Regions from separate parts of the Homo sapiens genome. Here region 1 is linked to region 2. Evidence: promoter capture Hi-C in 16 types of primary human blood cells and fetal thymus (Javierre and others, 2016). All regions are on one chromosome and are shown on one strand. The core of a region is centred on a gene start or on the middle of the fragment in contact, and the rest is flanking DNA. Distances in the headings are between cores, read along the strand shown. Region 1 has its middle 110 kb from the start of GPAT3. Region 2 holds the start of CDS1 (CDP-diacylglycerol synthase 1).

Region 1 (5,849 bases), core at 3,342-5,841, 940 kb before region 2:
TTGTTGGTGCTAAGTACATAGTAGTACAAAATATAGTTCCTCCCTCATGGAGATAGATAACTGTGGAGGAGAGAAAAAAAAGCAATTAAGTAGAAACATATAATTACAAAATGTGTGCCAAGTGCTCAAAAGGAAAATTGCTGGCTTTGAATAGAATGTAACATGTGATGGTGTTTTACTACCAAAGGAGAGACAAGAGGGAAAAACTTTTCTTCGTAAAGAAAGTTCACAAAACTTATTATGGTAGTAGGAGCCTTGTACTTTACCCGAGAGGCCTTTTCCTTCCATTTTCATGAGCTCACCTTAAAACGTAATTCAAAGAATCTGTAAGATGTAACGTATTTTGGTTTTTACTTTATGTGTTGTAGGTTGTATCTGGAAACTGAAGGCAAGCTTTGAGGAGACTTCTTGGGCCAGTTGATGGACATTAAACCTGGTTGAGAGACAGGGACATGAACTTGTGACCTTAAGTTGTCAGTAGGGAAAAAACTTAAAAATAGTGTTAAGTTCTGTTTGCCCTTGAAGACAGGGAAGATAATCAGGTTAATTTAATGAATACATAATAGGGGTTTGCTGATCTCAGCTGTCATAGAGCATTTTTATTTGACTAAATTTCCTGAACATGTTGCTGGTTGATTTGTTATCCTGTAAGAAAAGACCAGACATCATCTTTTCATATTTGTTCAGTGTTTTGGTGATTTGACCATTCACTGAAGACCATTATGTGCATGATACTCTGAAGGCTACATTGTAACTACCAGAGTGCTTATGGAATAATCTAGAATGGAAGGATTTTGCAACCTAATAGAATCTAGGATTCTTTACGTAGGGCATGAGTGGCCTTTGAAAGAATGTCTTAGGCGCCATCTTGTGGTCAGCATTATGAATGCATTGAATTCAACTCATCCTCAACTTGCTGGAGACTGCTTACAAAGTTCATGACGGCTTTCGGGCTGTTGAGACTTGAATACATTTCTCCATAGAACCAATGTCACAAAGGGAGGTTACATTATCCTACTATGGCAAAGACCTAGTATATTAGTCAGGTCTTTTTCAGCATCAGGTGACAGAAACCTATTTCAAACTGGCTTCGGCAAGAAGGGGTTTTCTCACAGAAGAAGGAATTGCTGTAGGAACCAGGGCCTTTGGTTTTATTCCATCTTGCTTCAAGGAAGGTTGTTATCAGAAATCCAGATTTTGAATAATTTTCCACATTATGACTCAGCTAGCTACAAGCAGAAGAATCTCAAGGAAGGACCCTGGCCTGATTGGGTCTCATGCCAAGCCTTGTACCAATCATGTATTCTGGGGAATGAGACACCATGAACAGCCAGCTTGAGTTGGGTGATCATCCTCAGTGGTTGGGGGGTGGAGAAGAAGAGACAGAATATGTTACCTTAGGAAGGGAGTGGGAAGGCTTGCTGGGCAAATGAGCAAACTAAAAAGAGCAACCGCAACCTATCGCATTCTGCTACTGAGATACCAGAACACATCCATACCCTTCTCCCCATGCATGCAATTCCCAAAGTGCCTAAATGCTGTAACTTTCCTGAGTAGACACAGTACAAACTCATCTTCTTCCCAAGAGGAATTAAAGACACATTGAATTGATGTGTTCAACACCACGTCTAGGATTTCTGGATGATGTGTGTTCCTCTTAGGTTCAGAGGTAGTGTCTACTCCAGGTCCAATAATCTATTTCCATTAAGAAAAAAACTTGACCACAAAGCCAGTTATTTAATCTATTTTGGATTCACTTAACATACCTTTTAAGATTTCCAAAAGAGACAAATCCTGTAAGTGTCTTATTTTATTGAGTTAAACACTTGAAAGCTATTTATTCATTTAAATCAGTATTTTGAGTAAGTGTTTATATGAGCCCCTAATATTTGTCAGGTATCATTTTAGGTGCTAGGAGTACATCCCTCATTTCTCTGAACTTAAAGACATGAGCAAATAACTAAGCAGTAAGGGGCTGTAATTGCAGTATTAATTGCATGTATGTTCTATTTGTACCATTTTTACAGAATTGTATGTATTTTACAGGTGGTATTTATGAAAATTGAAACCATAGAAATAAGAGAATCTCACTGATACAGAGAACAGGGATAAATAGAACCTCAAAGAGTTAGAGTTATTATTAGGACCAATTTTAAGTTGGAAGATACTTGGCAACAGTTTGTCAAAAATGATGGAACCGTTTTCTTCCTTTTCCTAGTTTATGTGGACTTTTGTTCTAGCAAATTTTGGTTTGTGCATTTGAGGGCCAATTACTCATGAAGCAGAATATTTGAGTCCATTTGCTTTATTCACTAACTGGTTGTCCTACTGGCATTTCTAATTTAAAACACATTGAATGACCTCCTAAGACAAACATCTAGCTTAATGATTAGAGGGAAGGATTGGACAGTACTTCAGAGCATGAGTTTTGACATAAGTGTCACCAAGGTGGGCCGGGCACAGCGGTTCACACCTGTAATCCCAGCACTTTGGGAGGCTGAGGCGAGCAGATCACCTGAGGTCGGGAGTTTGAGACCAGCCTGACCAACATGGAGAAACCTCGTCTCTACTGAAAATACAAAATTAGCTGGGCATGGTGGTGGTGCGCCTGTAATCTCAGCTACTCGGGAGGCTGAGGCAGGAGAATCGCTTGAACCTGGGAGGCGGAGGTTGTGGTAAGTCGAGATTGCGCCATTGCACTTTAGCCTGGGCAATAAGAGCGAAACTCTGTCTCAAAAAAAAAAAGAAAAGTCACCAATGTTTACTCCTGGCTTCACTCTTATTAGCTCTGTGACCTTCAGCAAGAGTCTTAGCTTTCTTAGTTTTCTCATTTAAGTAGTGGTACTCAACTTGTACTAGTACTCAACTTGTAAGGTCATTGTGAGTGTTAAATAAATATGTCACCGTATTAGCATATAGTAAGGGCTATATACATGTTGAAAGAATAATTAGAAAAAAGTGAAGCCTTTCTTAAGTGCCTTTTAAAAGTAGGCACTACATGGCTAAAATCCATTTATTAATGCTATAGAGACTTGATTATTGTTCATATAATTGATTATTGTTTGTTCATATAATTGATTACTGCTGTCTTAATTGGGGACCAGTGTCACTCAGAAAGAGTGTTGACAGTATGGAAATTACAAAAGATGTTGTTTTTATTTACTATGTTGAATGGTGGTATGAGGGAATCACTGGACTAGCAAAACTCTCTTAAAGTTTTGACATGGGATGGAGTGTGTGGTGGTGGGGACCCTTTTTCCCACTGTTGAGGTTTTATTCTTGTGGAGGGAGCTCCACTAGTCTAGGATTTCTGGATGATGTGTGTTCCTCTTAGGCTCAGACATAGTGTCTTCTCTAGGTCCCTTCCTTGGTGTTTTTATGCCCCTTCCTTGCTCCTTTCTGGAAGATACGTCACTTATCTGACTGGTGAATGTGGAAGGAATAACTGACCAAATGGCTCAGCCTCTTCCCTTTTTCTCTTGGGAGGAGCCTGTCTTCTGGAAGCTTGCATTCCACTCTGATCATCCTTGTCATAAATGCACCAGGCAGGCCCTGTTTTTCAGAGGCTTGCCCAGTCCAGTGGTGCTTGGGATTCAAAAGATAAGCAGTGGCTGGGTGCGGTGGCCCACGCCTGTAATCTAAGCACTTTGGGAAGCTGAGGGAGATGGATTGCTTGAGCTCAGGATTTTGAGACCAGCCTCGGCAACATGGTGAAACTCCATCTCTACGAAAAATACAAAAATTAGCCAGTCTTATAACCAGGTCTCAAAAAAATAAATAAAAATTTAAAAAGACCAGCAGTTTAATTCTTGAGTGCAATGTGATCTACTTGCCTAGAGACGTAGCCTCATTTTTCAATATTAACAATGTGATATCTATTCTCCTAGCTGCCTTATTCTTTGGTCGGATTTCTTAATTGCCTCACAACATTTGTGAGAAAGATGAATGTCATTTACCAAGCCTGTTGAAATCCCAGCAGTCCTGTTAACAATGAATTGTGCACATTCTACTGGGGACTTCCTTCCTTTCCTTTCCTTCCTTTCCTTCCTTTCCTTCCCTTTCCTTCCTTCCTTCCTTCCTTCCTTCCTTCCTTCCTTCCTTCCTTCCTTCTCTCTCTTTTCTTTTCTTTTCTTTTCTTTTCTTCTTCCTTTCTGTCCTGAATCTCGCACTGTCACCTGGGCTGGAGTGCAGTGGCGCAATCTCAGCTCACTGCAACCTCTGCCTCCTGGTTCACGTGATTCTCCTGTCTCATCCTCTTGAGTAGCTGGGATTACAGGCACACACCACCACACCCTGCTAATTTTTGTATTTTTAGTAGAGACAGGGTTCACTGTGTTGGCCAGACTGGTCTCAAACTCCTGACCTCATGATCCGCCCGCCTCGGCCTCCCAAAGTGCTGGGATTACAGGTGTGAGCCACTGTGCCTGGCCAGGGACTTTCTAAGAGCCTGAGTGGAATACACTTCAGAATTATCTATTGAAGGGCAAGGGAGCTAGGGTGTCTATCCACCAACTCCTGTCCCTCACTGGCTGAGGGTTGCTTAATTCCCTGGTACTTTTAGCTTGCCCATTTTGTCGCTAGCAGAAGTCCTCGGCCAGAGAAATGCAGGTGTTTGATGCGGGAAACCAAGAATAAGATGAGAACAATCTACTGAAGCGCCAAGTAACTTTCAGTGTGTCCTGGGGAATGGTTGGGGCACTCACAGTGCCAGCGATAAGGTTCTCTGAATTCCCGTTGGCTATGCTAGTACCCTTGCTCTGTGATTCCACAGATGTTTCCTTAGTCAAATCCAGCATTGGATGGGTTTATTCTGTCACCTCAGCTGTAAGCTCTATGTGGGCAGGGACCAGATGCATGCTATTCACTGTGGTATTCTCAAGCCTAGATGATCAGTAAATATTTGTTAAATGTAGCCGGGTGCAGAGGCTCACGCCTCTAACCCCAGCAATTTGGGAGGCAGAGGCAGGCAAATCACTTGAGGTCAGGAGTTCAAGATCAGCCTGGCCAACATGGTGAAACCCTGTCTCCACAAAAAATACAAAATATATATATATATATTTTAGTCGGGCGTGGTGGCACGTGTCTGTAATCCCATCTACTTGGGAGGCTGAGGCAAGATAATCGCTTGAAGCCAGGAGGCAGAGGTTGCAGTGAGCTGAGATCACACCACTGCACTCCAGCCTGGGCAACAGAGTGAGACTCCATCTCAAAAAAAAAAAAAAATTACTTGTTGAATGAATGCTGTGGTCGGGAATGAATAAATGGTCACAGTGAAAAAATCATATGCAATTATTTTTAAAGCTAGTTTTGGTGTTTTGTAAGAAAGTACATTTGCTATACAAAGAATTGTACTGCTGAAACACAGAGACATGAAGTGCATGGTTTGGACCCACCTGATGTTAAGTTTGAAATAAACTTGCCTTTTACAACTTTATGGTCCTAGAAAAAGGGAGATCACATATTTTCCTTTCTTAGCAAAAATTGTTATCAAGGAATAGTTTCCATGAAGGTAAAACAGAGTAAGAGATTTGTTCTATTTGAAGTATTTTAAATAGGTTCTGTTTGTGAAGTTACTTGTCAAAGTTTCTCAACAGGAGAGAGATGGATTTCAGTGCTGAGGATATGATGATGTAATGTGACAACATTGCCAGTAGGGGGTGCTGTTTCACGTAGCATTAGAAGCTTTATGGCTTTGGATTCTGTAAATAGAGTTCACAACATTATTCTCGAAATGAATTAGATTAGTTTCCGAACGGTTGATAGGATTTTTAACGTCAGACAGGCAATAAAAGAGAAAGCACCAAAATCAGTCACCCCACTCCATAAGCAAAAAAGTCTGAGGGAGATAA
Region 2 (5,784 bases), core at 391-2,890:
GACCACAGAGGCCATCCTTACTATCCGTTTACAGCTGAGGACACTGAGGGTTAATAACTTACCAAGGCCATGCAATTAGTGGCATTGGCAGCACTAGAACTCAGGCTTCTTGACTTCCAGAGAGTTAGAATGGAGCACTTCTAATCCTTTATGCAGGGTAGGGTAGTAGCCAGAGATGGAAACCCTACTACTGGCTTCAGCCATTATTCTGATTATCTTCTTCACTATCAAGCACTCCTTCATTTCCGATCCTCCAAACAATTGGACAATTTATTAATGTAGTCACCCCATAGTTCTCTGTTCAGTAGGGACTTATTTTCAAATCTTCTCTGTCATTTCAGTTATCCACCCCATAAGGAACAAATTATGGTTTCTCGACATCCTTTTGAAAACGTGCAACCCAAACTAACCGCACAGCTTCAAAGATCTGTTTGGTGAGGTAAAATGATGTCTTTGTGTTCTGCTTTTCAATGCATCCTAATTTGACTTTTGGTTTTGCTCATTTGTTAGTAAATTTTCAACACTTTACTTACTTTTACCGTGTCAGTAAAGACCTTGAGGAATTTACATAGTTGATCTATTTCTATAAGGGTGCTCTCCTGAACCTTGTCCTGTGTGAAGGCCCGCCTTTTTTCTTTTTTCTCTTTGTTTCTCTCTTTTTTTCATTTGTTAGCTTGTCAGTAATGACCGGGTGGCGGATACATGTCAAGAAAACTAATCACCTTCTAACAGGATTAAGACTAGAATTAATGCAGATCTTGTGCCCTTCCTGTTCCCGCTTTGGCAGCCCAAGGTCCACCACTGCTCAGAGACTAGCTGGAGGGCAACGGCGTCCCATAGCATCTCACACTGTGTTGGGATCCTAGGTGGTGACCTTTGTGAGATTCAGTACTGAGTTTCTGGGAGACGGCGCTGCGGTTGTGATCGGAATTGTTGGCCGACGCACCTCTGGACGCCCAGTGAGGCAAAAGCATCTCCTGTTTTCAAGGTGATGACACTGGGCTGGAATGCCGCGGGGCCAACCAGTCCGTCCTGCCAGACAAGTTTCTGGTCCAGTGAGCCTCCGACCCGCCGCGCGTGTCAAGCTGACAAGGCCGGGGAGGCGTTTGAAGCAGCAGTGTTGAGCGCTGTTAACATTTAGCGGGCGTCTTTGAGTAGCTCCTCCAGCCCTCGCAGCGGCCCAGGGACTAGCCTGCAAGTTCTCAACGCTCACTTCCAGCCCGCGCTGGCCCCGCCTCCGCCTCCCAGCTCCTCAGCCTCCTCCCGCCCCACCGCTCCCACCTTTTCTCAGGCCCCCACCTGCCAGCACGCAGAGGCGGGGGCGGGGTCGCGGGCCGGGCTCCTGACGTCACCTCACGGGGAGGCGGGGCTGTGGGAACCGCAGTGCAGCGCAGAGGGGCGGGGCCTGCGGCGCGAGACCTGGTGCGGGAGGCCCGGGCAGGGAGAAGTGTGCGGGGCCGGGACAAGCCGGCTCCGAGTCCGGCTCCGGGGGGCGGGGCGGGAGGGGCCTGCGCGGCGGCGGGAGCCCAGAGCCGCGCTAAAGCGGGTCAAGCGTCCTCCTTTTCTCCCCGCCCCTTCTCCTCCTCCTACCTGGGCCTCTGCGTGGAGACGCGCACCTGGCAACCGGAGGCCGCGTCTCCGCCTTCTCTGCTCGCGCCTGGCGCCCGGAGCCTGCCCGGGACCTCCGCCGGAGCCGCGCTCGCTGCAGGCGGCCTCGAGCGCTCTCTCGTTGATGCCGTTTTGGAGGTGACCGGCGCGGCGGCCGCTCTATGGTGGGGCCGCGTTAGTGGCTGCGGCTCCGCGGGACTCCAGGGCGCGGCTGCGAGGTGGCGGGGCGCCCCGCCTGCAGAACCCTGCTTGCAGCTCAGGTTTCGGGGTGCTTGAGGAGGCCGCCACGGCAGCGCGGGAGCGGAAGATGTTGGAGCTGAGGCACCGGGGAAGCTGCCCCGGCCCCAGGGAAGCGGTGTCGCCGCCACACCGCGAGGGAGAGGCGGCCGGCGGCGACCACGAAACCGAGAGCACCAGCGACAAAGTAAGTGGAGCCGAGAGAGGCGGACGCCGCGCCCTGGCTGGGTCCTGGTTGGAAGCGGGACACTTGAGAGCAAGGGTGGGGCCCGTCCAGCGTCAGGTGAGGCTGCACGCTGCCGGTGCACCTTCCTCCCTGCCTGGCACTGCTTCCTCCTTCTCCAGAGGGGGTCGGGACCCGGGATCCCAGTGGCGGTGAGGTTCCCAGGATGACCGCGGCCGCTGCCCGGGAGAAATGGGCCACTCAACCCGGCTTACAGTTTAGCTTCATCCTCTTCCGGTCCCTTCTTCAGGATCTGGGGCCGACGCTGGAATCAGGAGGGAACCTGTCCTCCTAGGGGCTGCAGTGCAGTTAGTAGCTGCCACCTCACCTCTCTTTTCAGTAGAGGGAACAAAGTTAGTAAGGACTAGAGACGTGCCACCGTCGGCTGTATCATTTCATCGGATCCTGACGCGGGAGGCTTGGCTTCTCGCGCTGCCCCATATGCACTTACATTTTCTCCATCCTTTTTCAGTATGATAGATTTTGGAGGTTTTAGAGTATCATGCACGTGACATAATAGTAATCTTCCAGCTTCTTTTGAGTACACGACAGACAGTGCAATTCTTCTGTCTACCAGTAGATTTCATATAACCCGACGTTAATTCATGAAGACTTTTCACTTCCTTTTCTATAGATTACTCTTCTTTCACATTTAAGAATAAGTAGATGCGATATTACTATCTGTTTAAAGCTAGAAAAGGAATTCGGGCGTGTTTGGTAATATAGTGGTGCAAGTAAGAACTTGTGAAGAAATGCAGTTTTATGATCTTATGGACTGGATGGTTTGGGAAATTGGACCAGAGAATAGATTGTTGTATCAAACCGTCTGTTTAGAAAATTCCATTTTATTTGAGAAACCCAAAACACGTAAACTGTTTCTAGAAGCATACTTTGGAAGCAGGCATTGCAGTTTGAATTACAGAAGTGAGGTGGATTGCCCAAGGTCAAGTTCGTGGCTCTTGAAACTAGAATCTAAGTTTCCTGATTCCTTTTCTTCTGGTTTATGTGGTTGCTGAGACTGGCTGGCAGTTCTGATTTGGGGAGGATTCCACCTGAAAGTTGATGTTGATGAGTTTGATGTAACCCAAATTACAAAGCCCTAATAGGAACATATCACATGATATCACGAAATAAACGTAAACGTGATTCTTAGTACTAAAACTTTAGAATCAATGGAATCAATGTAGTGACACTTTTCCCCTTACCCTTGATAGTAAGTAGAATAAAATGAGTCTGTAATAAAACATAAGTGTCAAGGAATTACCCAAAATATAACAATTTCCAGCTACTGAAGGTTGAAGTTACAAAACTAGGAACAGTGGGCTGAGAATAGTCTTTGTGAAAACTGCCTTGGAAACTAGACCCAAAATAGAATTAATTAGGTTGGGATTTGTTTTGTTTTGTTTTTAGCACTGGTATAGTTTAGCATCAAGGAAATACCAGCTTCTCTATGCTGACTTCCTTAACTCGACAAAGCTAACAAGCTTTTGTTAAGAGAAAAGATGTTCAGGAAGCCATGCATAAAATACCTTCGGAATTAAGTTTTTTCTTTTTTTAACACCATAATGTATTTAAAATGGAAACTACTTCTGTAGTGTGATTTGACTCATTAGAACTGTTGTCTCTAGCTATCTGTGACTAGGTTACCTCGCTGCATATTTATTTATTTATCAATGCAGTACTGTTGGTTTTTATTGACACATGTCCAGCTGGATTTTGTTTTCTGAAAGTAGACTTTGCTATATGTAACCTGTTTTGTCAAGATTTCTTAGACAAGGATGAACATATTCAAACCATATCTAAAATACTGCTCTACTTTTAGAGTTTATCATGAGGAACTTTTGACTTGGCAAGCTGATAGATATTGAACTCTATCCCTGTCTGTCCTTTCTTATCAGGGTGTGTATTTGAATACACCTGTATTTCCAGGTCAAGGGCTATTTTAAAATCAGTTTGCACACTGGAGGCTGGTTAATATTTGGTCAATTCAAACTCATTAAGGGCCTTCCCTGTTCAGTTGCAGTAAAGGCAAAACTCTTGGGGAATTAGTGAAAGAAGTGAAGGAGGTACATTATATTCTGCTATTATAATACACTCCCATGCATTGCCATTTTGTAGTCTTTTAATAATGGTGTTATTAACATGACACTCCCTTTGTTCCGGACTGGTGACTTATGCTGAGAGAAGGCTCTGTACTCCAGATAATTAGCAAGTGAAAAAAATACTTCTTACCTGCAGAGGAATGTTCCCAAGTGTTAAATGTTGGAGTGGTACTTGAAAAATGACAAGGGACATCTTCAAGGAACCCTGCAGGAGACATATATGAGTTAGATTTATTGGAAGTCTGTACAAGGCTCATTGTTAGCATAGAGGGCATGCTTGGCGTCTACCTGGAGACTGTAGGAAAAGCTCTAAACAGTGGATGAGGATTGAGCTGGGAATGAAAAGATTCCTGGGACTCACCAGGTTTACAAGGGTTTGGGTAGGGTGTTCTAGGCAAAGGACGTGTTGGGTTTTTTCTTGAATCAGCATTCTAGGCACAGGGTTGCAGATACAGAGGAAGAGATAATGAAGGTCCTGAGAGCAAAAGGAGGAGGCATTGCTTAGAGCAGTGGTCCCCAAATTTTTTGGCACCAGGGATCAGTTTTGTGGAAGACACTTTTTTCCACGGATGGGTTGGGGGGATGGTTTCAGGATGATTCAGGTACATTACATTTATTGTGCACTTTATTTCTATTATTATTACATTGTAATATATAATGAAATAATTATACAACTCACCATAATATAAAATCCATGGGAGCCCTGAGCTTGTTATCCTGCAACTATACAGTCCCACCTGGGGGTGATGGGAGACAGTGACAGATCATCAGGCCTTAGATTCTCATAAGGAACATGCAGCCTAGATCCCTCGCATGTGCAGTTCACAACAGGGTTCAAGCTCCTGTGAGGATCTAATGCTGCTGTTGATCTGACAGGAGGCAGCGCTCGGTGGTAATGCGAGTGATGGGGTGTGGCTGTAAATACAGAGGAAGCTTCACTCGCAGACCACTCACCTGCTCTGCAGCCGGGTTCCCAACAGGCCCAGTTCCTAACAGGCCGGTACTGGTCTGTGGCCTGGGGGTTGGGGACCCCTGGCTTAGAGGACATCATCAGTAGTACTTAGGAATAAGGGCTGAGATAGAACGTGGAGTTTAGCAAAAGATCTAAGTAGAAGCAAGTTTAGGTTGAGGAAATTGAGAGGTGAAATGTTGGTAGTTATTGTTATAAAGTGGCAGTGAAAGGAATACAGGATGGCAACTAGAGAGACAGGAGGATTAATGAAGATTTTTCTTTTCAGAGGAGGGGAGATATATATTTGTATGAAAGTCAAATGAGTAAAGATGTTGAAGACAATGGGTAGGCCCTAGGAAAAAGAAAGCAAACATGGGGTAGAGACTATGGATTATTGGGATATCCAAGGAAAGAAAAGAGGGATGCATGTCTTTTCCTTAAGAAAAGAAAGACGGAATGAAGAGTGGATACAGGAACATTTTGAAAAGCAGAAAGGAGAAGATCAAATGTTGGATGCCTTCAGTTAGTAAAGTAGGAACTCAGAACCAATGAGCTTCAAGGGATCTTAGAAACAACTTGGTTTAACTCAATTCATATATATTTGTATTTGTATATATTTATATATAATTTGGTATATATACAATTAAATTTTAAACAATAAA

Evidence for each region. Contacts are between HindIII fragments. The CHiCAGO score rates a contact against its expected background, and 5 or more counts as called.
Region 1: a fragment that was not itself captured here is called in contact with the fragment with the promoter of CDS1 in region 2 in 7 of 17 cell types (total CD4 T cells, naive CD8 T cells, naive CD4 T cells and 4 more); the score reaches 12.6 in total CD4 T cells.

Annotation. Positions count from the first base shown.
Region 1 is chr4:83,639,219-83,645,067 of GRCh38, forward strand. No RefSeq gene overlaps it. Among named protein-coding and RNA genes, the nearest start is that of GPAT3, 110 kb to the left of the region's middle. RefSeq lists an enhancer at 929-978. The HindIII fragment of the contact is 2,178 bases long and covers 3,503-5,680 here.
Region 2 is chr4:84,581,487-84,587,270 of GRCh38, forward strand. CDS1 (CDP-diacylglycerol synthase 1) reads left to right here and starts at 1,641. Exons shown (of 13, transcript NM_001263.4): 1 at 1,641-2,032. The coding sequence starts at 1,916. LOC102723338 (a long non-coding RNA gene) reads right to left here and starts at 735. Exons shown (of 8, transcript XR_007058460.1): 1 at 63-735. RefSeq lists silencers at 1,248-1,457, 1,498-1,597 and an enhancer at 1,434-2,387. The HindIII fragment of the contact is 8,586 bases long and covers 1-3,550 here.